6 separate regions of the Homo sapiens genome follow, and regions 2, 3, 4, 5 and 6 are each linked to region 1. The links are contacts of gene promoters, found by promoter capture Hi-C in blood cells and fetal thymus (Javierre and others, 2016). All regions are on one chromosome and are shown on one strand. The core of a region is centred on a gene start or on the middle of the fragment in contact, and the rest is flanking DNA. Distances in the headings are between cores, read along the strand shown. Region 1 holds the start of SEMA3D (semaphorin 3D). Region 2 has its middle 440 kb from the start of LINC00972. Region 3 has its middle 420 kb from the start of LINC00972. Region 4 has its middle 360 kb from the start of LINC00972. Region 5 has its middle 340 kb from the start of LINC00972. Region 6 has its middle 320 kb from the start of LINC00972.

Region 1 (5,039 bases), core at 1,842-4,341:
GGATTGTAGATTTTGTTGGTTTTAGTATCTTCTGCTGAGAGGACAGCCAAATCTTCTGCTAGATTTAAGCTCTGGACCCAGTAATTACCTTTCTCCTGTCTTCTGTTCAGAGGTAGCTATATGTGGAATTGGAGAAGCCTACAATATGTCTATTCTACCCTAACCCATCCCTGCTGCCTTCTCCCATGGCTCTCAACATAGATGGATGATTACTGAAATTCTACAATTAGAATTTTATTCTTTGGATTTGTTTGGCATTAAATGTGATCCTTTGAGAAATAGTGTATTTCATATTGCCTAACACATATTACTACCATAAAATGAAAATTACTTACTCATATTATATTTGTGAGCCCAAATAGAGATGGGTGAGGAGTAGTATGTCTCAGAATAGCCTAGATTCTCAAGGCACACAATTTATTTATTCAATAATGTTTCCAAGAACATGAAAGTTATTTGTTTTCTTTCCTTTTTCTTTTTGTTTGTATTTTTCCCCTTGGACTGAAACAGGCATACAAGCAACAATTAGGTGGTTTTAACTGATGATATACACATCGCTTTCAGTGAAATTAAGGCTCACTCGTTAAATCTTGAATAGTCACCCTTGAAGACAAACTAAACTGCACAATACACCTTGTATTTTAGCAAAACTTTTTGTAAAATATACTTTTTTTCCCACTGGGTTTTATTTTAAGAATTTAGATAGGGTATTAGCCCTATAGGACAGAATACCAAATTGCTTTTGATGAAAGTAGATCTCAAACTCTTAGAAAGGGTTGTTAAAACTATCTTGGTGGGACCCTATACAGTTATTAGAAATTCAGAAATAAATCCAGTGACTGAATATTAACATTATTTCTACTGTTTTTATTAACTCGTTTAACACACAAATATTTGTTAAGCACCTAACACATTCAAGACATTCAGGGAAGCAGCCTGAAGATTACGGAGCCATGGACACAGCTGAGGCCATTCATCACATTGGGCAACATATTAACAGTTGATTCCATCTGCTTTGTGCTCAGAGTCATTAAAAGGAAGGAAAGCACAGAATTCACGTTCCAGATGTTGTTTTCTCATGATATGTTCAGGATACTCTGGTAAATTCTGTCTAAATTTGAAGTCTGAGCATCTCAAACTAAATCAGTACAATACAATGTCACAGGCATTGTATTAGAGGCTGAAGAAACAAAGACACAAAACAGCCAACACTTTTGTATGGGATGCAGACACATGCATAACTAATTATAATATAAAGTGAAAAGAGCTTATTATAGTAGTGAAATCAAAGTGCTTTGGGAAAACAGGAGGGAGTGATTAATTCTGTAAGGGCTTTATGGAAAGTATTGAATGGTAGCAAAGGAAGGTGTCATTTGGTTTAAGCATATTAAGCTACAACTTAAAAGAGAAAGGAGGAAAATGGGAAATCCAAAGTTAACCACAATTCTAGTTAAACACAAAATTCTGGCCAATAAACTGACAAAATTATTTAAAAGTTTAAAAATAGAGATTTTCTAAAAATCAAAAACTACTTACTATAAACCCACCATATACGGGAGAAAAAAAGAGATATTTTATTTGCACAATGACATTGCAATTTGCATGGAAGTGCAATGACATATACAAATGAAAATAATATAAACACATAGAAACATACAATAAACAATTGCATGACTATGTACAGAATGAGTGGTATAACATTAAATATAAAGCATTCAGAAAAAAAATAAAAGTTGCTATAGTTTGAAATAGTCTACGAGGATTTAAAATTTTTTTCTCTATCCAAAGAGGGTATTTATGGGGTTGATTGGTTGTGAGTCCAAACCAAGGTTATAGAGATGGGGCAGCATGAGACACAAGAAAGAGCCTTGGTCAGATTTGAGAAACCTGAGCCTTTCCTTAGCCTGACTCTGCCATCAACCATTTATAACTTAAAATGACTCCTTTAGCTTCTGTGGCCCTCAGCCCTCTGCCACAGATAAAAGGTCAAATGAAGAATGTCTTCCACCCCTTTCAGTTATTCCATTACTGCATTTGTCTGTTCACCATCTCCAAATCAAGATATCTCTTGTTACTTGCTAAGGAAGCTTTGGGACCCTACACCTTGTGCTCTTAAATCAAGCTGACAAATGCAGGATCCCGTGGCTGCTTGCTTTCCATGTCTCTACCTCATGTCAGATTTATGTTTGGGACTAAGGGCAAGGTGTGTGACTATAAACCTGGATATCCCATCACAAAGGATTTACCATGCAGCTAAAAATGCCTAACGTACAGGGCTCACCAAATGCACAGGCCTTTTTAATGTCCCTGACGGTGGCCTCATGAACTCTCATTGTCATATATTTTTGCAGAATCTGTAGAAGTGAGATATTTCTGCATTACTTTTGCTTAAAGAGGATCCTCTATTCCAATTGCATAGGATCCAGGTTCATCAAAACTTAGATCTTCTCGTCATTATATACTTCTAAGTTCCTACTGTGTGAATAAGGGGTGCAAAAATCTAAAAAACTCCCGAAGACAAGGATATGAGGCACACCTCTTTGTAGGTCTGGCGTAAGGGAAAGAGGAAGAAAGGATTACATTCTACTCGTTTTTATCTCTCCCTGTTTGGTCTTAATCGGGTGCCAGCCCCTTAACGGAGGGTTGATCCCTGTTCCTCATCCCTATGCCTGCCTTGTCAAGGCCATTAACCGTGGATTGAGGTTTTACATAGTGGAACGCAGGTACTGTTTTGTGGGATTAGCATTTTTAGGACGGTGTTTGTGGTCACTCTCCCTGTTTCTTCCTCATGGGGTCCCTTAACAGGTTTTATGGTATAGAGAAGGAACTAAAGAAGTCCCCAAGTCACCCAGAAGGAAGATCAGACGTTAGAGGTTGCTTTACACATAGGGTGCCCTGTCCTGATAAACATCCGTCAGCGCTTGGCCAGGGCTACCTCTAAATCCACGCTGCTGGCAGCCTCCGCGCAGCAGGGATGAACTTCTGCACGCTTGGGAGTTCTGGCGTGCGCAGTGGAAGGAGGGGGCGAGGGCTGGGGGAGGAGATCGGAAGGGGAAAGGTAATCCCCGGCGTTTTCAGCATCCTCTTTTTAGAAAGACTGAGTCTCTCCCAGGACAGCTGCTGCGGTCACACCACAAACTTAAAAGCCGCCCTCCTGTTTGGAGCGTGCCTTTCCTCGCCACCCTCTCCTCCCCAAAGCTCCAGCTGGTGCCTTGCTCTCCGCCTGTCCTAGCGCGGCTCTCGGGGGAGGCAGCAGCGCCCCCTGCCTCCCGGCCTGGCCCCTGCGGCCGCAGCTTCCCGGCTCTGCCAGGGCTGCCGGCGGCTCCGCTTGCTCAGCCAGGGCTGCGGCTCAGAGGAACGCGCGCCGGTGCCCCGGGTTGCCGCGCCGCTGGACCTCAGCCTGCATCCCGTTCCCCTCTCCCTGAAAAGGCACCAGGAAAAGAGAGAGGGAGAGAAGAGTTCACAGCAGGTAAGTCTGGTTTGGGTCACCTGCTACTCCAGTGGGAGGGTGTGCTGGAGACCGCGGTGCTAAGCGGGGATAGCCGGGATTTGGGGGTGGCTGTGGGTCCGAAGTGGAGGACGAGCATGGTTTGGGAGATAAGGAACCGTCCTGAGACAGAGAAGGCTCCCGGGAGCGGACAGAGAGTGGGCGAAATCGGTGCGCAGTAATCGCGGCGCCAGCTTCAGCGCGGCCCCTGGGGCGCAGTCCCACCCCGCCTCAGCAGCTGCGGAGCCTTCTGACGAGCCTCCGCCTGGCAGCACTGCACAAAGTTTTCCTCCTGAGACGCGTCCAGGAACTTTGCTCTCTCCCTGGCTTCCTGGTTCCCCCACCACCCCTCCTGGTCTGGGCAGCAGAGAGCGTCTATGAATGTGTCCCCGGCTTCCGCAGGCTGCAGGTTCATTTGGAGACGCTTTAGTCGGGAACATCCGGGGAGTACTTGACCAAAGGGCATCTGCGCCCTCGCTCGCTCCTTTCCTTGTTGGTCTGGGAGAAGGGAAAGGGGCAAGGAAGAAGGAAGGGAAGCGTGGTGGTTTTTGTTGTAGCGTTTTGGAAGAGGAATGGGCGACGCCTTTTTCTTCGCCGGGGAATCGCGACGTTCCGTCTGATGGAAGTGTGCATCCTTTTAGATTTAGAGGGAAAGTTGGAGTCAAACAGCAGCCACAAAGCTGGCTGTCTGAAATGTGGTTAAGGCAAAACACTCGGGGGATCTCTTTGTAGTAGTGGGCTTGGCTCGCTTTGGAAAGGCCGGATTTGACTCGTGCTGGGCATTTAACCAGGAGTGCGGTCCCCAGGGTGTTTCCTCCCGGCTTCTGCCCAACGAGCCTGGAGTTAATGCGTTAATGGGCTACCCTGGTAGCGCACGGGCCGTTTTCGGCACTGTTTCTCCTTCTCTGATGACTCGAGTTCAACCTCCTGGGCTGAGTTGCTTTGCCTCCGTCACAGTGCAAGGAGGGAAGTTGACAGGAGGAGGAGACGCCGCGCTGTGGCAGGGAGCTTTGGGATCCAGGGGACTGGAAGAGAGCCGCGCGCCAGCAGCTGGGGCCGCTGGTGTCCGGGATTCCGAGTTATGGGGACAGGAGTTAAATAGCCGAACTTTCAGCGATTTCGCCTCGAGCGAAGCGGTAATAAAAGGCAAGCTTCTGTGCGTGGACTCTTATTTCATCACCAAAACCCCACCACTTTCCGTTTAGCTTAGTGCTATTTGCACAAGCAAAAGAAGAGGGGAGAAGACCTAAACTTTCCGGTTTAGCCTAAAAAGGGTTCTCCTGCATGTGTGCGCTAGCGGGGGATGGCGGGGTGGGGGCGCGCAGAGACGAGGGGGAGGATCTCCTAACAGAGAGGGAAGGGTTGAGGCGGAGGTAGAGGAGAGGTCTGAGACATCTCCTGGGTCTGGTGCTGCTGCTATTGTGTAACCATGGCAACCGCGGGGGCAGGGGTGGTCAGAGCCTTCCCAGTTCTGCACGTGGAAAGAAAAATGTGAAGGGCAGAGAAGGGAGAGAGCCACATGTCATCACTCCAGTGATGCCTTGCCTTCTCC
Region 2 (5,039 bases), core at 1,601-4,100, 670 kb before region 1:
TGATTTAAAGTGACTGTCAGTCCTTGGTGTTGACAAGTTAATGTTTCATGATTCACTATTGCCATTGTTTACCATGATAACTTATAATTAAGAAAGCACTCATGCTTGGAACCACTGTACTTCCTCTCTATAAAATATAAAGGTGTTTATTTTTCCTTAAGTAAGTCATTAAGTATTTAAGAGACATTTCCTAAATGCAAAATTGCTACATGATATGGAAAACTATTTGTATAAATTAAGGACAATCACAGGAAAATGTGAATAATTAATCATTTAAATAATAGTTTAAGAAAAGAAAATAAGAAGTACAAATAAATGCATATCACCATATTACTCTATTAAAAATTTTGGAGCATATTTGGTAAAAATCAATGAGACCACATGGACACAGGAAGGGAAACATCACACACTGGGGACTATTGTGGGGTGGTGGGCGGGAGGAGGGATAGCATTAGGAGATATACCTAATGCTAAATGACAAGTTAATGGGTGCAGCACACCAACATGGCACATGTATACATACGTAACAAACCTGCACGTTGTGCACATGTACCCTAAAACTTAAAGTATAATAATAATAAAATTTTTAAAAAGTGATACCATATAAAATTATGCAAAACAGTTTATTTTCTTGAATATACCAGAAATTATTCTAGAAATGAAGAACTAAATAAATATATTAAAAGAATGTTCTTCTTAGACAGAAAAAATATTTTAATCCCAAACTTATATTTTTACCTTTTTCTATTCTATTTTGTGTTCTCTAAAATGTCTAAAAAAAATCCTACCCTTAAAATATGAAATACATACAAATACAAGTATAACTAGTAAAGGACAAAATTGTCATGATGGTTTATTTCAAAAGTATGAACTTTAGACATTGTTCTATCTTTGTAAAACTTAATTACATTTTTGATACTTCATTTATAAAACTGTGCAGTCAACCTACAAATCTCCAACCCTTATTCCAGTTAGGTATTCTAAGTGTCTTTTCTACAATTTAATTTTTTGCTTTTTGGTTTTCTTTTTTTGACGAGGGGTAATAAAAAGCAATTTTTATCTGTATTTTTAATACTGCTCTTCTCTAAGAACCTATAATAACTCATTAATGTATGATATCTCATTGTTTTCTGTCATTCTGAATCAATTGTTTCTGGCAGTCCTTTTTCTTAAATTTAGTGAATTTTGAAATTAGTGGGTAATGTCTGACACTTCTGTTATTCATTTCCTATCTTTAATCATTTATTTTGAGGCTAACATATCAGTATTCTCCATAAATACACTGTTGCATGATGGAAAACATAATAATTCATGTGTAAATTTTGGCATTTTGTGTACCAAATTTATGTTGAAGTGGTTTTCTATTAACGTGTTTATTTACACAATAAAGAGGAAAAGTAACGTCGTTTTTGTTTGTTTAAAATCCATTTTGGTGCTTCAGTGAAAAAAATCTAAAAGGAAAAATTAGAAATTAAAGGTAAATAAAATAATCCATACATATTAATGTATTTGTAATTAAATAATAATGTTAATATCGTGCTCTTTTACTATGTAACAATCAAGAAGGCGTAATTTCTGCATACATGCTGCTATTTAGCTATAGGACTGCAAATTCAATGGGGAAAATTGTTGAAATAAGGAAATATAACTGATTCCTCTCAAATTATTTCTTCAATACTTTTAATATTGATTCATCACCTTGTACACCATCCTACCCAGTATTTTGAAGTTCTCACCATCTCTAATATATTTTAATTTTAAATTAATAATATTGTAGGAATAACAAGAAATTGGGTGGAAATAGTTACATAATAAATTGTTGATACTCTGAAATTATTTCAAATCTTGCTAAGGCTAACAGGTTCAGAAATTTTCACTAGTCACAGAAATAGTAGTAATGCTTTTTTTTTCTACTAAAATTGTTCAGCAAAATTTTACTACAATTTGGTAAACACATAAAATACTCTAGTTTTCAATCGAAGAGAAGATTCAGGATTGTTCCCAAAGTTTTATTTAGATTGCCCTTGATATTAGTAAATATAGATACATTATATTTATATTTTACCTTATAGCATTAAGCACATAAGTAAAGGATATTGCTGTGATTGATAGTAAACTTAGGTTTTTATAGGTGAATGTACTAGATATCACTCATACATATATACTGTTTTTCTCTTTTTCATGATTAGCTCAATTTCAAGTTCTGCTTGGAATTTACATAGTTATCACAGAGTTTTTAAAAGGCTGACTAATAAAAGACAGAGATTATTTTATTTTGTGTACACATGCACACACACACATATGGGAAGACTCAATATTAGAGAAACATCAGATCTCTTCATATCAATAATGTGAGTTGGGGAGGTTACTTCAAAATCCCAATTTCTTTCAAAGACATTGGCAAGTTATATCTCTCCCTTTGTATTAGTCTATTTTCAAGCTGCTGATAAAGACATACCTGAGACCAGGCAATTTACAAAAGAAAGAAGTTTAATCAATAACCCACAGTTCCACCTGGCTGAGGAGGCCTCACAATCATGGTGAAAGGTAAAAATCACGTCTCACATGGTGGCAGACAAGAGAAGAGAATGAAGAAGAAGAGAAAGCAGAAACCCCTTATAAAACCATCAGATCTGGTGAGACTTAACTCACTACCACAAGAACAGTATGGGGACATTGCCCCCATGATTCAATTATCTCCCACCAGATTCCTCCCACAACACATAAGAATGATGGGAGTACAATTCAAGATGAGGTTTGGGTGGGGACACAGCCAAACCATATAATTTCACCCCTGGACCTCCCAAATCACATGTCCTCACATTTCAAAACCAATCAAGCCTTCCCAACAGTCCCCTAAAAATTTTAACTCATTTCAGCATTAATTCAAAAGTCTACAGTACAAAGTCTCTGAGACAAGGCAAATACCTTCCGCTTATGAGCTTGTAAAATCAATAGCAAACTAGTTACTTCGTAAATACAAGTACAAATACAACAAAAGTACAATAAGGAAACAGAGAACTTGAACAAAATTATAAACAATGAACCTAATAGACATATGTAAGACATTCTACCCAGGAATATCAGAATACATGTTCTTTTCATGTGTGCATGAAACATTCTCTAGGATAGATCATATGTTAGCATACAAAGCAAGTCTTAAAAATGTAAAAAGATTGAAATCATAGCATGTATCTTTGTCCTACCACAATGGAATAAAACTAGAAATCTATAGCAGAAAAAAACTAGAAAATGTACAAATATGCACCAATTAAACAACACACTCTTAAACAACCAATAGATCAAAGAAGAAATCAGAAGGGAAATTAGAAAATAGCTTGATATATGCAAAAATGAAAACCCAACACACCAATCCTATGTGATGCAACAAAAGCAGTATTGAGGGACAATTATGGTTATAAATTCTACATTAAGAATAAAGAAAGATGTTAAGTGAACAACTTAACCTTACAACTCAAGGAACTAAAATCACAAGAACCAATGAAGGCCAAGTTTAACAGCAGGGAAGAAATAAAGATTACAGCCAAAATAAATGAAATAGATAAGTAAAAAATAGAAAAATCTGTAAAACTAAGAGTTTTTTGAAAATATATATTAAAATGGATAAGCCCTTAGCTACAGTAACTATGATAAAAATATTAAAAACTTAAGTAATAAAATCATAAATGAAAAGGGAGATGTTATGACTGATGCTACAGAAATAAAGAGCACCAAAAGAGACTACCATGAGCCATGATAGCCAAAAAATTGAATAACCTAAAAAATGAATAAATTCCCTAGACATATACAACCTAGCTAGACTGAATCATGGAAACAGAAATTGTGAACAGACCTATAATAAAGAGAAGGACTGAATCAATCTCCCAGTGATAACAGAAAAAGCTCAGGACTCAATGACTTCACTGGTTGATTCTATCACATATTAAAGAAGAACTAACACGAATCCCTCTGTACGCCTTTTTAAAAATTGAAGAATAGGAAACATACTTCCAAACTAATTTATGAGCCAGTATTACTCTTATATCTAAGCCAGCCAAACACACTACAAGAAAAAAAAAAAAAAAACTACAGGCCAAATTTCCTCAAGAAAATACTTACAAAACTGTACAAACCTTCAGCAAAATACTAGCAAATTGAATTTATCAGCACATTTAAAGCATCATATATTATGACCAAGTAGGATTTATCCATAGAATGCAAGACTGGTTCAACTTACAAAAATAAATTCATGTAATATCCCACATTAACAGAACAAACGAACAAAAAACAGTTTATCATCTCAATTGATGCAGAAAGGTCATATGATAAGGTTCAATATCTTTTCATAATAAAAGCTCTTAATAAATTAGGTATAGAAGGAATTTACCCCAACATAAAAAGGCCACATATGAAAAACCTGCAGGTAATATTATACTCAATGGTGAAAAACTGCAATTTTTTCCTCTAAGATTAGGAAGAAGGAAAGGATGCCCGCTTTTAATCAGCATAACACCAGAAGTAATGGCCAGAGCAATTAGAAAAGGGTAAAAAAAAAAAAAAAAAGTATCCAAATCAGTAGGGATGAAGTTAAATTATCTGTTTGCAGATGACATGATCTTATAGGTAGAAAACATTAAAGATGCCATAAAAATTGTTAGAAATAATAAATTCAATAAGGACCAGGAAATAATACCAGCATACAAAATTTAGTTGAATTTCTAAACTAGCAATAAACAATCCAAAGAAAATCAAGAGAAAAAATTCATTTACAATAGTATCAAAAAAGATAAAATACTTAGGAATAAATTTAACCAAAGAGGTAAGGGATTGGTACACTGGAAACTAAAATTTTCATGAGTGAAATCAAAGAAATTACAAATATATGGGAAGACATCAGATGTTCATGCAATAAAATAATTAATATTTTAAAATTATCCATATTACCCAAAATTATCTGTAGATGCAATAAAGTCCCTGTCAAAATCCCAAGAGAATTTTGTTGAAAAAATTGAAAAAAACTATTCTAAAATTCATTTGAA
Region 3 (5,039 bases), core at 1,027-3,526, 650 kb before region 1:
ATTTACATGATTTATTAACAACTCCTCCTATACAAAAGTCAGTGAGAGAAACAACAGGTTGGCAGTATCTCATATGTTCTCAAACAAACATGCTTTGATTTGTACATTTATACAAAACAACAAACTCCTCCTTTCATTCTTTTGACTTTAATTCTAGTTCAACACTCACTATTCCCCTCTAGTTCATCTATGGTTTATCCAACATTGGGCGCAAGGGTGCCTACTTCTGTGCCCAGATTGGGATTGAATATGCATCTCTTGCTTCAGTTATATATTTGACATTATAATATATAAATGATTTAGTGGTTCCAGGTTACTTCATTTGATAATTGCACAGTATTCATGATAATTCTAATGTCTGTTTACTTTAAGATGTATATAACCATATTCAGTTTCTGTGATTCATTATACAAAGAATCAGTTATTTACTTTTCTTTACTTACTATAGTAAGTCAATTAGTGTTTAATTGATCTCATTTTTCATTATTGTTTTAGTTTATGTACTAGTTTCCTTTTTCTTTTATTTTCTTCTTTTTGTGTGCGGGCAAAGGTACAAGCCTAATTTTCTTCACATTGCTGAATCTACTCTTTATTGTTACTGTACAATTTAAACATGAGCATACACACATTTTATAGTCAGTTTTAATTCTAAAGATTCATCTGTAAATTCACTGGTTGTTACCCATTTTTGTAGAGGTAATCCCATATATAATTCCAGAATAGCAAATAGTACTGACTATATGAGGCGCTGGAGGAGGTAACAGAAAAAGAAAAATGAACACTTTCATATAATATTTTTATGCCACAAACACTTCACATATATTAACTTTTTTAATCTTCAGTAGCATTTTGATGTAAGTCCTATTATTGTCCTCATTTTACAGTTGAGGAAGCAGATCTAGAGGAGTCACATATCTTGGCCCAAACATACGGTAAGCAGTTGAATCTGGTTATGAGTCTGTGGTCTTCACTACTATGCTGCCTTAACCAGGAGATAAGTCTGAAAAAAGCTGTGTGTTCAGCACACTTTGAGGGGACTGAATATTTTATCTCTGCTTCACGGACAGCATGTAAATTAGTTGAAAGAGAAAGAGGCCAATGAGTGTGTAAGGGGTTTTGGAGTTGACATAAAGCAAATCCGTAGCATAGATACAGGGTGGAACATCCTGCCAGGATAAGGCAGTAATGTGTTTACATTTCAAATCATGAATGTGTCGTGCGAGAACTGGAGAAATAGATGAGGTAAATTATGTTGCATAATACGGCTGTATTAAACTGAGACACAAACACTGAGACACGGACAACACATTTCTGGCAGTAAGGAGAGAAATGGAGACTCAATCTTGAATTCTTCTGAATTTTCAATGTTAAGTTTTTTCCAACAATTATGTATTCAGTATCTACTCTCTGACATGTACTGGCACAAAATAAAGACCCTGAACCTCTTGAAGCTTATACTTTAGCAAGCTTACCTTATTTAGGTATCTCTAAAGATCCCTGAATTTGACTATAATTTTACTGAAAACACAAGATTAAGCTTTCTGAAACAGGAAGATTAGTGATGAATGAAATAATTTATGTTGAGTTGCAGAGAATAAAAATTACCTATCTGATACAATGTTCAACATTTGGGTGATGGGTACACTAGAAGCCTAATCCATACCATTATGCAATAAACCCACATAAAAAACATACATACGTACTAAAATTTTTTAAAAAGTACATATAAGCAAAGGACAGAAATTATTATATTGTTGTAAGTGACAGATATGCATACTATTTGGCATAGTACTCCTCATTTGGCATGTAGTAATTACTCTAAAACATTAATTCTATGTTATGGTATTATACTCACACACAAAATAAAACAAATCTAAGATTTGTTCTCTAAGTTTATTCTTTTCATGTTTTGTAATTTATTATTTTTTGCTTGTTTTGTCATTCAATAAGCCTGCTTTCTTGTTTTTAATTTTCATATTATTTTATTAACACTTAGTTTATTTTATTATTTTTAAATTAATGATGAACTAAGGCAAAAAATTTCTTCTGGTATGAGCTTTATCTATACCTTGTAGTTTTTGATGCGTACAATTCTAAAATAATCAGGAATTCTAGTTTTTATTCCTTTTTTACCCAGCGGTAAACTAGGAGAGTTTCAAAACATGCTTATTTATTTTAAAATGTTAGGCTTTTCTTTTAATTAAAAAGTAAACTTTATTATTATTGTGTTTCCTTTTAAATTTATAGATATTTTATTCTTATGCTAAATCATGTTTAATATTTGTAGCTAGTCTATGAACACTTGAAAATAAGTATTTTCCTGCATTTCAGATTATCTGTATATTTCAACCTTTACTATTTTATTATTCTAATCCTTTTTTTCTGCCTTGAACATCACTATATTCATCAAGTGGATGAGAAATTCAGTTTTATTTTAGCCTATTTTCTAGATAGCTTATGAAAACAATGAAAGAAAATAATAATAATGGAAAAGGTGGAATGGAACAGGAGCTATCACTATAGACAGAGAGAGAGAGATTCATGTACACGTGTGTGTGTGTATTTATAAAATTTACTGATGCATGATATACATATGATAACATTTATTTATTTTAAATATACAGTTTGATGCATTATGGTAAATATATACAGTCAGGAGAAATGAGATTTTAAATTTCATGCTGTACAAAACTATGGAAACAGCAGTATCTTTTATCTTGTACTTAAATGAATATTTGCAATATAATAATCAGTTAAAGATTCTAAATGATAAAAATTCTATTCACTGTTACATAAACTTGAAGAAGTTGGCAATGTTATATGTAAATATTAGAGGACTTAATGAGGACAGATATTTATCTTCAACAAATATAATGAGGGATTCAACTTATTATATCCAAATAAAACTCCAAATAAACAACCTAGGAATAATGGAGCTAATATTTTAAATATATTTCAGCTTAATATAGAAATAATTTTATGAAAATAGCAGATTCTAATATGGAAATAAGCTTTTCTGGGAAATGTATGTTTGATATCACAGGAACAGTTCAGGCCATGGATGGAAGAGTTACTATAACAAAAGCAGCCACACTAGTGACAAAGCTGAGTTAGCTCTTTCTAACAAACACTCCCTCCAGCTCATAGATTCAGTTATTCTTTGAAAATTGAAAAAGACAAATGAGGGAAAAATATTTCTCTCTGTGACCATATTAGTTACTCCAATAAAAAATGTGATATATACATATATATATACATATATATAATCACAATTCATTAGTAGCCTTGAAACATTAACAACTAGATTAGTAATAAATTACATATACTTAAAATTCAGAGGATAAGTTTTGCATTTCATATAATGGTAAATTAAATCACACTTTTGTTTGGTGTTCCATGAGGGGTAGGGAAATTGAGTAGTTTACCCGTGATATTCTCAGGTAAAAAATGTGGTATTTGTCACTAATGAGGTATTTGGGGTTATTTGGAAAATCTATTTACAGTCAGAGCCCGGAAAAGTGACCATTCTTCAATTCTGCCACTGGGTTATTGTTGTTTCATTTAAAAAAAATATGGATTTTTTTAATTAGTAAAAGCTAAATATAACCAAAGACATGAAGTGGGAAAAATAAAATTATGAAAGAGATATTAAACTTAAGTTCTGTTTTTTATAATTCAAATCTTTTAAAGGAAACCTTGGACACACAGTATTATCTGAATTGGGTGGAGTTAAAAGCACTTAAGAAAACACTTATCCAATGGATTAGTTTTTTCTTTCTTTCAATTTTCATAGCTTCAATTTCATTTTTAATGGGATCCAAATGTCTTTTCAAATATATAACCATTTAAAAAGCTATTACGTGCTTAAATGAACATTAGAATTTTATCTTTTGTAATCTTAGCTACAGAGTTCTTGTAAATGAACAGGATAGATGTAAAGTCCTAAATCAAAATGGACTTAGGTATTTTCAATTGTTGGCAATAAATAATTAGAAATGAGAAACCACCCCAGGAAAACATCTCACTGAACCCCCTTTTAAAAATTGACTTTTTATTTTGCTTGAATGTATTTGTAGTTATTCCATCAAAATATGAAAATACACTTATGTCTATAAATTAGTTTTTCTTCTGTTAATGTTGCTGATGAGAAAAAGCAATAAAATGAAAATTAATTTGCTAAGTCGTTTCCCGATATGGTATATATGCAATGATTATGTTTCCTTACACATCCAAATGAAAAAAAGCAAGAAGTAAAACAAAGGTATGGTAATCAGAAATGTATGCAAAATAAAAAGCAGCCATATGTCAATTCAGGAATATTGAGAGTAAAATAAAGTATATTTAACTATAAGAAATATTAAAATTAGTTTAAAATATAAAAATGCCTTTCTATGTTTCCATATATCATCTTAGTTACCTGGAAGGTATTACAATAAAATGTGGCTAAATCAACTATCTAGAAGTCTATATGCTTCCCGTAACTGAAAAGCTCCAAATGTATAAATGAAAGAGGAAAGTGTAGGAGGAACAAAGGCCACAAAGAGTCCTTCTTTAAAGAGAAGAAAGTAAATAAAACAGAAGAGAGGAGTAAAGGCCTCCATTATATCCAGTGTTCTATTTGTCCACTGGTTAAAACTAAACAAGTTGTTGTTGTCAGGCTTTTATTTGAAAAGGCAAGAAACAAAAGTAAATGGAAACCAAAAGACACAAAATAGGTAATGAAGAAGAACCAAAAGGAGGAGGAGTGAAAAGAGGAGAAGGAAAGGATAAAGAGTAGAAAGATCGAGAGAAGAAATATGAACCCTGATGTGAGGAGAAAGGGAACTCAAACTAAATGAGGAAACCGAACAAGTCTGGAAAGCATTTGATTAGCTTCAATAAAACTGAACATATGGGATTAGAAAGGGGGCTGGGGAAAGACAAGATTTGTAATCGCCCCAAATAATAAAAATGATAACTTCCAGTTATATTAACATATTCTTTTAATCAAGACAGTATCTTTACCTTTACTGTGATATGATTTTAATAATTAAATCAAT
Region 4 (5,039 bases), core at 1,647-4,146, 590 kb before region 1:
TAATTTTACATGTAGAAAAACCTAAAGACTCCATCAAAAACTTAGAACTAATAAATGAATTTAGGAAAGTTGCAGGACACAACTCAACATACAAAAATCAGTAGCATTTCCACACATTAACAACAAATTATCTGAAAAAAGAATCAAGAAATCAATCCAATTTACAGTAGTTAACAAATGTAAAACACTTGGGAATAAATTTCTAAGGAGGTGAAAGATCTCTTCACTAAAAACCAGAAAACACCAATGAAAGACACTGAAAAGACACAAATAAATAGGGAGATATGTATTAATATATTAAAATAATTAATATTATTAAAATGTCCTACTACCCAAAGAGATCTACAGATTCAATGCAATTTCTGCCAAAATAGCAATGTTTTTTAACAGAATTAGAAGAAAACAATCCTAAAATTCATGCAGAACAACAAAAGACCCCCAAATGCCAAATAATCTTGAATAAAATAACAAATCTGGAAGCTTCACTTTACCTGTCTTCAAAATATACTACAAAGCTATAGAAATCAAAACAGTATGGCAGTGGCATCAAACAGACACAGAGATCAATGGAAGATAACAGAGAGCTGAGAAATAAATTCGTGCATTTACAGTTAACTGATTTCCAACAAAGCCTCCTAGAACACACAATGAGGAAAGGACAGACACTTCAATAAATGGTGTTAGAAAAACTGGATATCTGTATTCAGAAGAATGAAATTAGACTCTTAACTCTCATGATACACAAAGATCACTCAAAATGGATTAAAAACTTAATTGTAAGACCCAAAGCTATAGAACTTCTAGAAGAAAGCATATGGATGAAGTTCCATGATATTAGCTCGGGCAATAATTTTTTGGACATGACAATATCGGCATAGGCAAGAAAAGTATGCATAGACAGATGAAGTTACATCAAACTAAAACTCTTCTGCACAGAAACAAAAATCAATATAGGGAAGAGAAAAAAATTGCAAACTACACATCTGATAAGGGGTAGTATTCAAAATATATAAGGGACTTAAGTAACTCAATAGCAAGAGAACAAATAACCCAAGTAAAAGATTGACAGAGGTCCTGAATAGACATTTCTCTACAGAGGACATGAAGATGGTCAACAAGGAAATGAAAAAATGCTCAGTATTACTAATCATCAGGGAAATGAAAATTAACACTACATACATGCTTATTATAATGGGTATTATAAAAAATACAAAATATAATGAGTATTGATGAGGATGTGGCAAGAAGAGAACATTTTTTGTTCCACTTTTGGTGGAAATATAATGTGGTGCAGCCATTATGGCAACAGAATGGAGGTTCCTTAAAAAATTAACAATAAATCTTCCACATGATCCAGCCATTCCACTACTGAATACATGTGCAAAGCAAATGAAATGAGTATGTCAAAGAGATATCTGCATTCCTTTGTTTATTATAGCATTACTCACAACTGCCATGATATGGAATCGACCTAAATGTCCATCAATAAATGAATGGATGGATAAAAAAAATCTGGTATATATACACTATTCAGCCCTAAAACAGAAGGTAATTTTGTAATATGGGACAATATGAACGGACCTGAAGAATGCTATGTTAAGTGAAATAAATTAGGCACAGAAAGACAACTATCAAATGATTTTATTCATATGTAGAACCTAACAAAGTTTATCTCACGTTTGTTATCAGGGGCTGAAATGGTTAGGGAAGGGAGGCTGGTATATCTTGCTCAAAGGATTCAAAATTTCAGATAGGAGAAAGAGGTTTAAGAGGTCTATTGTATAACTTGGTAACTATATTAAACAATATATTGTATTCTTGAAAAACCCTAAAAGAATGGATGTAAGGTTTTTTTTCTCCACAAAAAAGATAACTGTGAGGTAATACATATGTTAACTGGCTAGATTTATTTATTCCCCACAATGTGTCTTACTCCAGAAGAATATGTTCTACATGGTAAATATATACAATTATATCTGTCAATTAAAAAACTAAATTAGAAAATTGAAGAGTGATCATTACTAGAGATGAAAGCACATTAGACTAAAATGTTGTTGATTTATTCTCAGTTTAATCAGTAGATGAAAGTCTCTGAAGTATCTTTTTCTTTCTTTAATCTTAAAAATATATCCAAAAATATATATATACTTGTCAAAATAACTAAACGAGTCTAGCCTAGCTGGCCTATCATTGAGGTGACATTAGTAGAATGTCTGGCTCCTCCACTTACTAGTTTTGTTTTCTTGGACAAGTTATTTAATCTCCCTTTTCTTCACTTTTTTATGGTGATATAAATAGTACCTAACTCACAGAGTAACTCAAAGAGTAATTAAATTAATTATTAAATTTATTTAATGATAAAATTTATTTTTAGGCGTGCAGAAAGGAGACTGGCACATAGAAAGAATATTGATTGTTCTCATTTTATTATTTATATTATTGTTGCACATACCCTAGTTACATGTGGAAGTGATTGTTAAGGATTAAATGAGATAGCGTTTATGAAATATTTTGAAAATAATAAATTTACATGGAAATTCAAGCTATTTTCATGACTAAACAGTGCTTTTTAGCTTTGGCAAACAGAGCCTGAATTTTCCATTCAATCACTCTTTTTAAAATGATTCTTTTAATTTGTGTCTATGGATGCATCTGTTTTAAAAAGCTAATTTTAGACAAGGCTCTTTCCCCTATGGGCATCAAATAGTATGAGCCTGTTTCTTTTTGCAAATTTCACTAAACACTTGAATCTAGTTAAGTCTCAGAGTGAAACAATGACAGAAAGCACTGACCTAAAACCTGCACATTTCCTCTGTAGATTATCTGTTGCAAGAATGATTTCTGTGATCTTTTGAAACAGACCATGTGGTACATAGTAAACTATAGAATCTCAAAATAGTATTTCTTTCATCATTTGCATGATAGTTTTGAAGAAAATATATACTGGGGAGCCAAAGCATACTTGTGTGTCTTCAGACATAACAACTACCGAGTGCAAAGTGTAGCTAATAGAATTCAACCAAAACGATGACACAACCCCGAAGGAGTAGACAGACATAGTGTTTATCATAATTTACACCCAACCTTGGCAAGCAATTTTTTAAAATTAAAGAAGATATAACTAACTGCCAAATGAAATAGTCTGTGTGATTCATCTTGGTGGTGTGGTAAGTGGTTTTCTGATTGAAAATCTATGGAAAACAAATATATCTTTATATTCCCCAGGAAATTAGGCAGTCAAATGTTTTATTATCTTCTCAAATTGTATTACGAAAAAAATTCCAGGAATTGGAGATTTGTGGGATGCATGAGTTTTGGTATTTCATTAAAAATCATGTAAACCTCTAAAATAGAGTTCTCAGTTTAAAAAAATTATCTTCAAAATGCTGTTAATACCATATGCTTATTTTCAGTACCTTCTAAATGGAAGTATTTTCTTTATACAGAGATGGCTCTGTTTTTAGTATGTTCTCCCAAATGCCTATTTCTTAGAGAAGTTAGAACTCAGAATACAGCCCACTTCTGAACCAGACTAAATCATTTCCCTTCATATTTTTAAGATGGATCTCGAGTTCAGAAAGATTAATTACCATGTGTATGAAATAATGCCTTGGCATATTGTACTCAAAAGCTATCTTGTTCAATGCATGGATTAATTAATATTACCCAATACATTCATAATTGGCGTGGAATACATTTTTGTTCTTGATCCTTCTGTTGTTTAAAGACCTAATGCTAAGTCTCTAGCCTTTTGCCATGATGTAATATATTTTGAATAGAGGTGTAAAGCTATTCTTTGTGAACAGTGATCTTCATATCTTGGTTTGTGCTGTCAGCATGAATTGTAGAGACATAATTGTAGATACAGCATTTTGGTGCTATGGGTTTTTTATCTACTTTATGTTTTCCACCATTGTTAACAAATAGCATTTTTCACATTTGTTATTTCATTTGAACTTTCAGATAACTTTGTGAGAGGTATACAGAACAGCTATTATGAGAAAACAGAATTTGTGGGGTTACAAAACCTGGTAGGAATTTAGGAATGCATTTTCAAATACTCTCAAAGTTTCTTTTTCTCTTTTATTCTTTGAAAAAGCAGAAAGATATTTTATATAGAAGTATATTATACTTGTATATGTGTAGATAAGGTGTGGACATTAAGAATGTGCAAATCCCAGCCTGGCCAACAATGATGAAACCCCCGTCGCTACTAAAAATACAAAATTTAGCCAGGTGTGGTGGCCTGTAATCCCAGCTATAAGGCATAAGAATATTTTGAACCTGGGAGGCAGACATTGCAGTGAGCCAAGATCGTGCCACTGCACTCCAGCCTGGGCGACAAGGGTGAGACTCCGTCTCAAAAACAAACAAACAAAAAACAAACAAAAAAAGTGCAAATCCTTTTTATAATGAGCTATTTGCCACAAGTAGTCAATATGTCCAACATGTTTATAAGCCTCTTATAGGACCTTATTTATGACAATCTACATGGTCTACCAGGATATATCATAATTCGAGAGAACCGAGAAACACTATTGATAATGAAAGTTCTGGAAGTTTTGGAAGAGAGGACTAGCTTTGCCCAAAGTGTGAAGACAAAACATATTTCTCCAGTTTATCTCCAGTGATTTGTGTCTCAGTGCCTTTGGAGAAAATTTGTTAGAAAATAAAACAAAACAAAAAGAAAACAAAATCTAATGTAACTATTGTCACCCAAGAGTCTTCTTGAAAACGATTATTTCCCTTTCATGAGGCAACAACCATGATAGCATCCGGGAACCTGGTAGTAGCAATGCCATCAAGAGTGGCTGGACACATCCAGGGATTCCTGGTGAGCTACTGGGCACTACTAGGGCAACATTTAACCAAGGGCAACATTTAACAGCAGACTGGAGGTGACTTAGCACACAGAAAGATCCTTTTCTTGGTTTTATGTTTAGGGAATTTCTTGCTGATTAGTAGAAGCACCAGAGGCCACAGGGTTTGAGAAAACTTGTCCATGGGACACAGGAAACATCTACAAAGTAAGTGAAAAT
Region 5 (5,039 bases), core at 1,715-4,214, 570 kb before region 1:
TTACTGGTTTGATTGCTACATGTCATATACATGCATCAAAATAACGCTCTGCTCTCCATGAATATGTGCAATTATTATGTATCTAACTAAAAATAAAATTTAAAAAATCAGTTTACAAAAAGTCATGCATTTCTAATATCTGCTTTTAGACTTCTCTACTTTTATTTTTCCTGACTCTGTTTCCACTTCCTGATTACATCTTTGTTACCTATCATTCTGAGTTCTTGGCAGCTTCAACGCACATTCATAATACTATACCTCATTTTTATTCTGTAATTCAAATCTCAGTTTCATGTTCTGCATCTACCCTTTTCTAACCCTACTGTTACTGCACTCATACGCTGGGCCTCCCTCCACATTGTGTTTTCACCATCTTAATGCTCCCCATTATGGAGGGTAAAGAAGTTCAAGTTCTCCAAAGACTGTCTGGAATTATGTATTCCAATTTTCTTTATTATAAATTAGACACATGTGTTACAGATAAGCTGAAAAACAGGCTTAAGATCATAGAGTTAATTAATGGAAAGATAATTAGAAAGAATTATTTGCATTATGACTCCTGGTCCAGTGCTATTTCTACCCAGTTAGATGTATAGATTTATCACTGAAAAAAAGTTAAAATATTATTAAATTTTGGTGTTCCTTTATAAAGCTACAATTTCCAGTTTTTAATACTCCTTTGCATTATTTATGATTACTTTAGTCACTACACAAGTTTTAAGAAAAACAATACAGGGCCATAAATGTCATATTTCCTTAAACTCAGCTGGGAGTCTACATTCAGGCACTGATTTCACTATTTTCAAAATACAAACCTACAATAGCTCCTCTCCTCACTTATCTACTGACTCCTGACTTACTAATATAGAATTTTATGAGCTAAGTTCAATTTACTAGTAATTTTTAAATGAAATTGATAAATGGCAAAACGGTGTGTCTCCCTTTTCTTACTCCAAGAAATCTTAATTGAAAAATAACATCATTTAAACTTGTTGTGTTTTGCCTTTGATTTCTTCCCTCACTCTGTTTTCAAACTTTGTTTCCCTAAACTCCCAAGTCAATGTTTCCTTGAAGAGGCCTTCGATTATTTTGCAAGACTTATATCTTCTTGATAGTCTTGATCAATTTTGCCTCTTTCTTTTCAAAATGACATAGACTCACAGTGGTGTTTAAAACAATAACTAGTAGGGAGGAATTATATTTTAGTACCAAACATTATAGTTACCGGAAATGCAAAGATTATTTAAAAAGAAATAATCTCATTTTTTATAATTTTAAAGAAAAAGCTTTATGCCTAGGTTTGTAATATTGTATTATTTTCAAGATTTGAGGATAAAACCCCTCAGATAAAAGTATATATGTATAGAAAGTTTGATTTCAGTTGTAATTCTGGAATATACTTATTAGAGCCATTCAATCTAATCAGGCTAACCACAGAAATGAATTTTGCTCTTATGAAATTCTACTTACGTGCACACAATCTGATTTATTTGCTTTTAGAATTTTCTGGCAATATTTTGCCTCTGTGGCTTACATGTCTTTCATATGGCTACAGGATTTATTCCCATTTCTACCATCAACCCAATAAAGGGTTTCAACTAAGGTCGCTGTGTTCCAGTATTTCTTATTCAAGTCCACAATTTCAAGTCCAATTGCTGATTAAGAAGTAAACACTATAAGCCCCAAACAGGCCTCCAATTAAATACTGTATCAACACAACTCTTGTCCTTTTTCTCTTTGAAACTTCACAGTCATTTGGATGGATGGTATTTTTGGTTAAACATAGCAAATCGTGTAAAAACTAAGTTTGTTCAATATGATTGATATAATTTTATGTCATATTATTATATATTTCTTCATTAGGGGATTAATAATACTGTATAAGCAATACATATAGCAAGTGAAAATTACTTAGCATATACAACTTTTTCATCATGATATAGCCATTAGTTAGACAAAAATAAACCTTGCTCAGATGGTTACCTCTTTTCTGCCTCATAGTTATTAAATAAACCAGGAGTTTGACTTACATCATAGTGGTTTGTGGGAACTGCCTCTACAGAATAAATGTTTAGAAGGTGAATCCTTGAAAGGGCATTGTAAATATTTTTTAACCATGGATTTAAATACTTTATTTTTCTTCTGTTTATGTGTAATTTTTAACTTTCAAAATTATTATATCAGTTGTTAGACTTTATAAAAGTTGTGCAATTCCTTCTTCCTAAGTATTTTAGTGCAATTTTACTTTACAATGTAGAGTATAAAATTTAGTAATGAAATTATATATCTATATGTAAAAATTCCATTGTTACATGGAATTATATTATTACATATGGATACAGATGAAACAATACATGTATATTGTTACATATACTTAACAATATATGTCACCTGTCACCCAAATAATGTACATTGTACCCATAGACAATGTTGTATCCCTCACCCACCTCCCACCCTCACCACTTCTGAGGCCCCAATGTCCATTATACCACTCTGTATACCTTTGCATACACACAGATCTCTCTTATATATGAGAGTATGCTGCATGTGGTTTTCTGTTCCTGAGTTACTTCACTTAAGATAATGGCATCCAGTTCCATCAAAGTTGCTGCAAAATACAGTATTTTATTTTTCTATGGCTGAGTAGTATTCCTTGGTAAATATATATCACATTTTAGTTATCCACTCATCAGGTGATGAGCGCTTAGGTTGATTTCATATCTTTGCAACTGTGCATTGTGCTGCAATAAACATACAAATGCAGATATGTTTTTGATATAATGACTTATTTTCCTATGGATATCCATAGGAAATTCCTACAGTAGTAGGAAATCCCAATAGTGGGATTGCTGGATCGATGGGTAGATCTACTTTCAGTTTTTTGAGAAATCTCCATACTGTTTTCCATAGAGTTTGTACTAACTTAAATTCCCACCAGCAGTGAAGAAGCGTTTCTTTTTTACCACATCTGTGCCAACACCTTTTTTTTTTTTTAACTTTTTAATAATTGCCATTCTGGCTGGTGTAAGGTGGTATATCACTGTGGCTTTAATTTGCATTTCCCTGATGATTAGTGGTTTTTAGTATTTTTTCATATGTTTGCTGGCCTTTTGTATATTTTCTTTTGAGAAATGTCTGTTCATGTTGCTCATCCATTTTTTAAATGGGATTATTTGTTTTTTTCTTGAGGATTTGTTTGAGTTCCTTGTAGATTCTTGATAACCTACAGATTCTGGTTAACCTATAGGTTTACAGAACCTATAACCTATAGGTTCTGTAGTTTCTCCAGGCCCTTTCTATAGGTTCTATAGATTCAGAACGTTCATTCTTTGTTGAATGTATAGTATGCAAATATTTTCTCTCATTCTGTAAGTTGTCTGTTTACTCTGAAGAAGCCTTTAGTTTAATTAGGTCCTAATTATTTGTTTCTGTTTTTGTTGCATTTGCTTTTTCAGTCTTATTTGTAAATAATTTCCTAGGTTAATGTCCAGAACAGTTTTCCTAGGGTTTCTGCTTGAATTTTTATGGTTTTAAGTCTTATATTTAAGTCTTTAGTCAATCTTGAGTTAATTTTTGTATATGGTGAGTGATAGTGATCCAGTTTTATTCTTTTTCATGTAGCTATCCAATTTTCCTAGCCCTTTTAATTGAATAGGGTGTCCTTTCACCAGTGTATGTTTTTGTCTGCTTGGGCAAAGATCAGTTAGTTGTAAGTATTTGGCTTTATTTGTGGAATCTCTATTCTATTCCATTGGAGTGTCTACTTTTATACTAGTACCATGCTGTTGTGGATAATATAGCCTTGTAGTATAGTTTGAAGTCAGGCAATGTGATGCCTCCTGATTTATTCTTTGTGCTTAGAACTGCTTTGGCTATTTGGATACCTTTTTGGTTACGTGTGAATTTTAGGATTGTTTTTCTAATTTTGTGAAAAACGACATTTGTATTCTGATAGGAATAGCATTGAGTCTGCAGATTGCTTTGATCAGTGTGGTCATTTTCACAGTCTTGTTTCTTCCAATCCATGAGAATGGGATGTTTTCCCACTTACATCATTTATGATTTTTTTTGCATTTTATTTATTTTTAAATTATTTTTAAAACTTCTAGATTAGTTTTAGGGGTACATGTGAAGGTTTGTTATATAGATAAATTATGTGTTGTTGGGGTTTGATGAACAGATTATTTTGTTACCCAGGTAATAAGCATGGTGGCTTTGAGTTGCATTTCTTAAATGACTAGTGATGTTGAGCATTTTTTCATATGCATTACAGCCATGTGTATATCTTGTTTAGAGAGGTATCTGTTTATGTCCTTTGCCCACTTTTTAATGGAATTGTTTGTCTTTTGCTTGTTAATTCATTGAAGTCCCTTATAGATTCTGAATATTAGACCTTTGTTAGATGAGTAGTTTGCAAATATTTTCTCCCATTTTGTAGGTTGTCTGTTTACTCTGTTGATAGTTTCTTTTGCTGTTCAGAAGATCTTTAGTTTAGTTGGGTCCCATTTGTCAACTTTTGTTTTTGTTTCAGTTGCTTTTAATGTCTTCATCATGAAATGTTTCCCAGGGCCTATGTCCAGACAGGTAATTAGTAGATTTTCTTCCAGGGTTTTATAGTTTTAAGTTCTACATTTAAGCTTTTAGTCCATCTTGATTTGACCTTTGTGTATGGTGTAAGGAAGGGGTCTAGTTTGAATATTCTGCATATGACAGTTCAGTTATTACAGCACCATTTATTGAAAAGGTAGTCCTTTCCCTATCGCTTTGGCTTGTCAATTTTGTCAAATATCAAATGGTTGTAGATGTGCAGCTTTATGTGTTGGCCCTCTATACTATCCCATTTTTCTATGTGTCTGTTTTTATACCACTACTTTGCTGTTTTTGTTACTGTAACCTTGTAGCATACTTTGAATTCAGGTAATGTGATGCTACCAGTTCTGTTCTTTTTGCTTAGGATTACTTTGGCTATTTGTTCTCTTTTTCATTCTTAATTTCAGAATACTTTTTTTTATAATTCTGTGAAGAATGTAATTGGTAGT
Region 6 (5,039 bases), core at 1,444-3,943, 550 kb before region 1:
TATGGATTGCCTTATTTACACTCCACTGCTGACATCTCTACGTTTAAAATGAAAGAGCAACTCCTCAGGAATTATATACTTGGTCTCTCCTCTGCTTTCTGTTTTCTTAAAACCAAAAGTCTCCTAGCACAGGCGCCACCTCTGAAGTTTCCGATGCATCAACATCAGCCTGGGGATCACATCCTCATCAAAACGTGGAAAGAGGAAAAACTTGAGCTGGCCTGGGAAGGGCCTTACCTGGTACTTCTAACTACTGAAACTGCAGTCCAGACAGCAGGAAAAGGATGGACCCTTCACACCCAAGTCAAGTAAGCACCACCACCTCAGGAGTCATGGGCCATTATCACAGGGGAATACTCCCTCAAACTAAAGCTAAAAAAAGTTTAACACTCTTCCATCTATTTTATTACTCTTTCTTCTTTGCCCTTTCTATTGCTGACCACCTTGTTATCAATGTAACTAAATCAAACTCACCCCCAGTTATTATGTTTGATGCTTGTTTAGTCATAACCTATAGAGATCTCCAAAGTCAGAGGTAACTCTCAGCCTCAGAAAAGTATCTCTGCCCCTTTAAAATAACAGACTCCACCTACCAAGACTCTTGCGCCTTAACAAATGCAGGAAAACAGATCTGTCATAGCTGGAATGATGTTCTGTGGACAACCGAGTATCAAGGCTGGACCTCATCTACAGGTGGTTGTATATCCTTAAAACCATGCATTCACTTTACTAAAGAAAGAATCCAGTGCAAATTTCTATTCTCATTACCACGTCTACCGACCCTAGCCCTACTTTGAGTCACTTCTATGGCATAGGAGCCAACTTGCCTGGCACAGACCTCATAGGGTCTTTTGAAATGTGTTTTTATTAATCCCTCATCCTGTTTGCCCCCTTCCCTCTCTTCTCCTTCTGAGCTTTCTTCTAATCAGACGGCCATCCCTTCTATATCCAATGATAATACTAAAGCAAATATTGTAGAAGTAAATTATCTAAGGTAAACTTTAACAATTGAAACAGTATATCAACATATAAATTCCTGGTTGGAATGAATCAAATATTCCATCCACACATTAAACAAGAGCAATTGTTATGCTTGTGTGCACGGCCTCCAGAGGCCCAGATTGTCCCCTTTCCACTTGAATGGTCTCCCAGTAGAGCACACATGGGCTGCATGAAAGCTCTCCCACAGGATTCTATGGCTTGGGACAATAAATCATGCCAAGCTCTCTCTCTGCTATATCCCGAAGTCCAACACCCTGCGGATCGGCCCCCGAGGGCCATCCAGCTTCCATCTCCCAACGTCAATTTCACCTCATGTCTCTCATGACAAGGGGAGAACTTGGCGTTCCTTGAAAACTTAATGAGATGTAATGAGCTTAAGCCCTTCTAAGAGCTTACCTATCAGTCTACCGTTAGACGTCCTCAAGTGGATGTATGGTGGTATTATGGTAGACCCTTACTGGATACTCTGTGAAGTAACTGGAGCGGCACTTGCGTTCTTGTCCAATTGACTATCCCTTTCACCCTGATATTTCATTAGCCAGATAAAGAAAAATCACAACACTGTAAAATAAGAAAAGCCCCTATGGGTCTTTTGACTCTGAAGTTTATTTGGATGTAATTGAAGTCCCACAGGGAGTACCTAATAAACTCAAAGCCTGAGACCAAATAGCTGTAGGATTTGAATCAGTATTTCCATGGGTAACTATTAATAAAAATATAGACCAGATAAATTAAATCTATTATAACCAACAGTGATTTATTAATTACACTAGAGATGCTGTCAAAGTAATAGCCAAGCAATTAGGGCCTGTTAGCCAAATGGCTTGGGAAAACACAGTAGCCCTAGAAATGATGTTAGCTGAAAATGTGGAGTTTGAGTTATGACTAAAACTCAGTGTTGTACCTTCATCCCAAACAATACTGCCCCTGATGAAAACATAACAAAGCCTTCACAAGGACTTACCACTTTATCCAATGAACTAGCTAGAAATTCTGGAGTCGATTACCCTTTTTCAGGATGACTAGAAAAATGGTTCGGTAATGGAAAGGAATAGCGGCTTCAATTCTCACTTCTCTTGAAGTCATAATAGGTGTACTCATTCTTGTTGGGTGTTGTATTATACCATACACCCATGGGCTAGTACAAAGGCTTGTAGAAATGGCACTTACTAAAACTTCTCTTAGTTCTCCTCCACCTTATTCAGATAAGCTTTTCCTTTTAGAGGATCAAGTTGAACAACAAAGCAAAGATATGTTAAAAAGGTTTGAAGAGGAAGAACTATAAAAATTAGAAGGGGGGAATTCTAGGATACAATAAAATTCCTCTTCAAAGGTTCATCCTGTTAATTCCTTGTTCTTTGTTCTCAAACCTAACTTTCTTGTTCTCCGTGCCTCCTTGCCCCTAGTTACTATAAACAACCTTCTCATCAGTGCTAATCAATAACTCACATCTGTTACCTTGGTTATTCACTCTGTACCCATTCCTCCCACCAAAACTGCACATCCAACCACTGTAACTCACTTTCCCTTTCCCACTTCCTTATTTGGGTAAAATATTCGCAAATAGCCAATTGGGTCAGCTTAGACTGTGCGGTTTAACACCAGCCCATGGGGGAGTAACACAGATGTAGGAACTACACCTCAGAAATAAAAACCCCTTCCCTCCTTTGTTCAGTGTGCTCTTGTTATCATGATTGACACAGGCAGCACCATTCTGCAGAAGTAAATTGCCTTTCTGAAAAAGAACTTTTGCCTGAGGGCAGGTTTCATTTTGCGGCACTGAGCATTTACTTCCAACTGAGCTTCTTTTGTAAGTTATCTGGTGGTTTTCCTCACTGCTCTTATAATTCATTCCTTCACATTGACTTTAGATAACCTGATGATATATGCTTTGGTGATGTCATTTGTGCAATGAATTTCCTCGGAGTTCTTTGAGTTTCTTGTATTTGCATGTCTGAATTTCTAGCAAGACCAAATAACTTTTTCTTATTTTCTGAAATAGGTTGTGCAGACATTTTGCTTTATCTTCTCCTTCAGGAAGACCTATGATTCTTAGGTTTGGACATTTTACATAGTCTCACATTTTTTGTACACTTTGTTCACTTCTTTTAATTCTTTTCTCTTTATTTTAGTCTGATCAGGTTAATCTGAAAGCCTTGTCTTCAAGCTTTGGAATTATTTCTTCTACTTGGTTTACTGTACTGTTAAAATTTTCCACTATATTTTGTAATCCCCAAAATGTATCTTTCATTTCCAGAAGTTCTGATTTTTCATATTGCTGATTTTTCATATTGCTGGTTACTTCTTATTTGAGTAGACTATTTCTTATTTTTTTAACTTTATTTTTGATTTGACTGGGTTTCTTTAAAAATATTTTTTCCTTTGAAGATGTGACTTTAATGTACAGTTTATGTTGACCTAGCTTTGGCTCTGAATGCTTTCCATGGTAGAGACTCTGTATTAATTCCTTGGTTATAGATAATCATTTTGTGATGGCTTTCTCTGATGCTGGTTGTATTAACAATGTCCTTGGTGTGTGAACAGGCTCACTGTCTCTTGTGGGGCTGGAAAGGCAGAGGTATCATGAAGCTTATCTTATCTCCCAGTGGTGTACACTTTTAAAATTTTTTTCTAGTTTAGTTTTCACCGGGTTAACGAGTTTGGCATCAACCTGGTGAAAACTAAACTGGAAACCGGTCCATGGTTTAGTAGGAGGTGGCCAAGGCTAAAATTTTGTTGTGGCTGAAGTAGGTGGATATATTCAATACCTCAATGGTGGGAAAAGTTCACAGCCTTGACAGTGGTGGTTGGGGGAGCACTCATTGAAATACATTCAGGTCTTTTTGAGGGGAAGGGAGAAAGCCACCTCCTCTCCTCTTTCAGAACAGTAAGAAAGCTGTCTGCCTCCACATTATGCACTTGTCTCATTGTTCTGGCTATTCATATCAGATAGGTGCCTCTTTCCAGATTCAGGAATGCTGATGTTCCTTGTAGAGCGAGATTGTTACTGTACTCCTCATACAAGCCTGAGCTTGGAGGGCACTCATGTTGTGGGGATGCAGTCACCTCTAAGTGCTCCGGAAAGGCTACGTATGGGCGGACCCATGCCGAGTTCCTGTGGGAGAAACCGCAGCTGTGTACGCAGTGGTGGTAAGGAGGAGATAAAGTCTCCTCCAAATTTCTTCATGAGTATTTGGGCTGCCCAACTACTGCGTAGAACTGCAGTCCTTCCTCACCGAGACCAGCACTACACTTGTGACTCTGCTGAAAGAAACTTCCCACAAGCAGAAAGTTCTGGGACTCAAGTCCTGTACTCTGGTTTCTTTTGTGCCACAGGGTGCTCCCTTGATGTGGTGCACTCCCACTTCTCCTAGGAATGGTGGTCCCTGAGGGCCAGACTACTGTGAATGCTGCTGCTCTTCTGAGTCTAGGTGCCTGGTAGGGCTTCCACATTCCAGGTGGTGCTGGGGAATATCTACAAGGGATCCAATGTTATTAAGGTACAAGGGTTGAATGTCCTTAAATAGAACAAGGTCCCTCAGTGAGAGTGCATTCAGTATGGTATATGCTATTACAGCTTAGATTCAGAGGGAAAGGGAAAAAGCATTGTGTAAACAAAGGTAATGCCCTCAGAAAGTCCCCAAATTATAGCCCACTGTAATTCTGCTCACAAAAGCAAAGAAGCTCTCCTTGAGCTCATATATCAGTAGTCTACTGCAAGAGCTAGAGAGGTCAAGAGCACTCTCACCTATCCTTTCCATGGATTGCTAAGTTTTTCAGGGTTTGATTTCTGTTCGATCCCTGTGAGCTTGTTACTTCCTTTGTATATGTGTTTGTTGTAGATTCTTCCAGTGAACTTTCCTATAGAGTCTAGCACTCTCCCTTTACCAATTCATTTGGACTCTGATTATTCACCAGTAATTTGATTCTGCCTTCTGAGAAGAATTGGTCACTAGCATCTCTTGTTAGTCAACTGGGGAAGCTCTCTGCTGCCTCAGGTTGTGGACTGGTTTGCAGGGTGTGCAGTGGCTGGGTTC

The links. Contacts are between HindIII fragments. The CHiCAGO score rates a contact against its expected background, and 5 or more counts as called.
Region 2: a fragment that was not itself captured here is called in contact with the fragment with the promoter of SEMA3D in region 1 in 1 of 17 cell types (megakaryocytes); the score reaches 5.8 in megakaryocytes.
Region 3: a fragment that was not itself captured here is called in contact with the fragment with the promoter of SEMA3D in region 1 in 2 of 17 cell types (megakaryocytes and erythroblasts); the score reaches 7.9 in megakaryocytes.
Region 4: a contact is called between a fragment that was not itself captured here and the fragment with the promoter of SEMA3D in region 1, in 1 of 17 cell types (megakaryocytes). The highest score is 5.2, in megakaryocytes.
Region 5: a contact is called between a fragment that was not itself captured here and the fragment with the promoter of SEMA3D in region 1, in 5 of 17 cell types (megakaryocytes, M0 macrophages, M2 macrophages and 2 more). The highest score is 9.4, in megakaryocytes.
Region 6: a fragment that was not itself captured here is called in contact with the fragment with the promoter of SEMA3D in region 1 in 1 of 17 cell types (megakaryocytes); the score reaches 9.8 in megakaryocytes.

What each region holds. Positions count from the first base shown.
Region 1 is chr7:85,185,108-85,190,146 of GRCh38, reverse strand. It overlaps SEMA3D (semaphorin 3D), which reads left to right and starts at 3,091. Exons shown (of 19, transcript NM_001384900.1): 1 at 3,091-3,469. RefSeq lists a silencer at 3,220-3,279. The HindIII fragment of the contact is 2,551 bases long and covers 2,090-4,640 here.
Region 2 is chr7:85,855,201-85,860,239 of GRCh38, reverse strand. No RefSeq gene overlaps it. Among named protein-coding and RNA genes, the nearest start is that of LINC00972, 440 kb to the right of the region's middle. The HindIII fragment of the contact is 8,193 bases long and covers 1-5,039 here.
Region 3 is chr7:85,836,888-85,841,926 of GRCh38, reverse strand. No RefSeq gene overlaps it. Among named protein-coding and RNA genes, the nearest start is that of LINC00972, 420 kb to the right of the region's middle. The HindIII fragment of the contact is 1,474 bases long and covers 1,540-3,013 here.
Region 4 is chr7:85,779,839-85,784,877 of GRCh38, reverse strand. No RefSeq gene overlaps it. Among named protein-coding and RNA genes, the nearest start is that of LINC00972, 360 kb to the right of the region's middle. The HindIII fragment of the contact is 4,828 bases long and covers 483-5,039 here.
Region 5 is chr7:85,758,076-85,763,114 of GRCh38, reverse strand. No RefSeq gene overlaps it. Among named protein-coding and RNA genes, the nearest start is that of LINC00972, 340 kb to the right of the region's middle. The HindIII fragment of the contact is 3,351 bases long and covers 1,289-4,639 here.
Region 6 is chr7:85,735,348-85,740,386 of GRCh38, reverse strand. No RefSeq gene overlaps it. Among named protein-coding and RNA genes, the nearest start is that of LINC00972, 320 kb to the right of the region's middle. The HindIII fragment of the contact is 957 bases long and covers 2,215-3,171 here.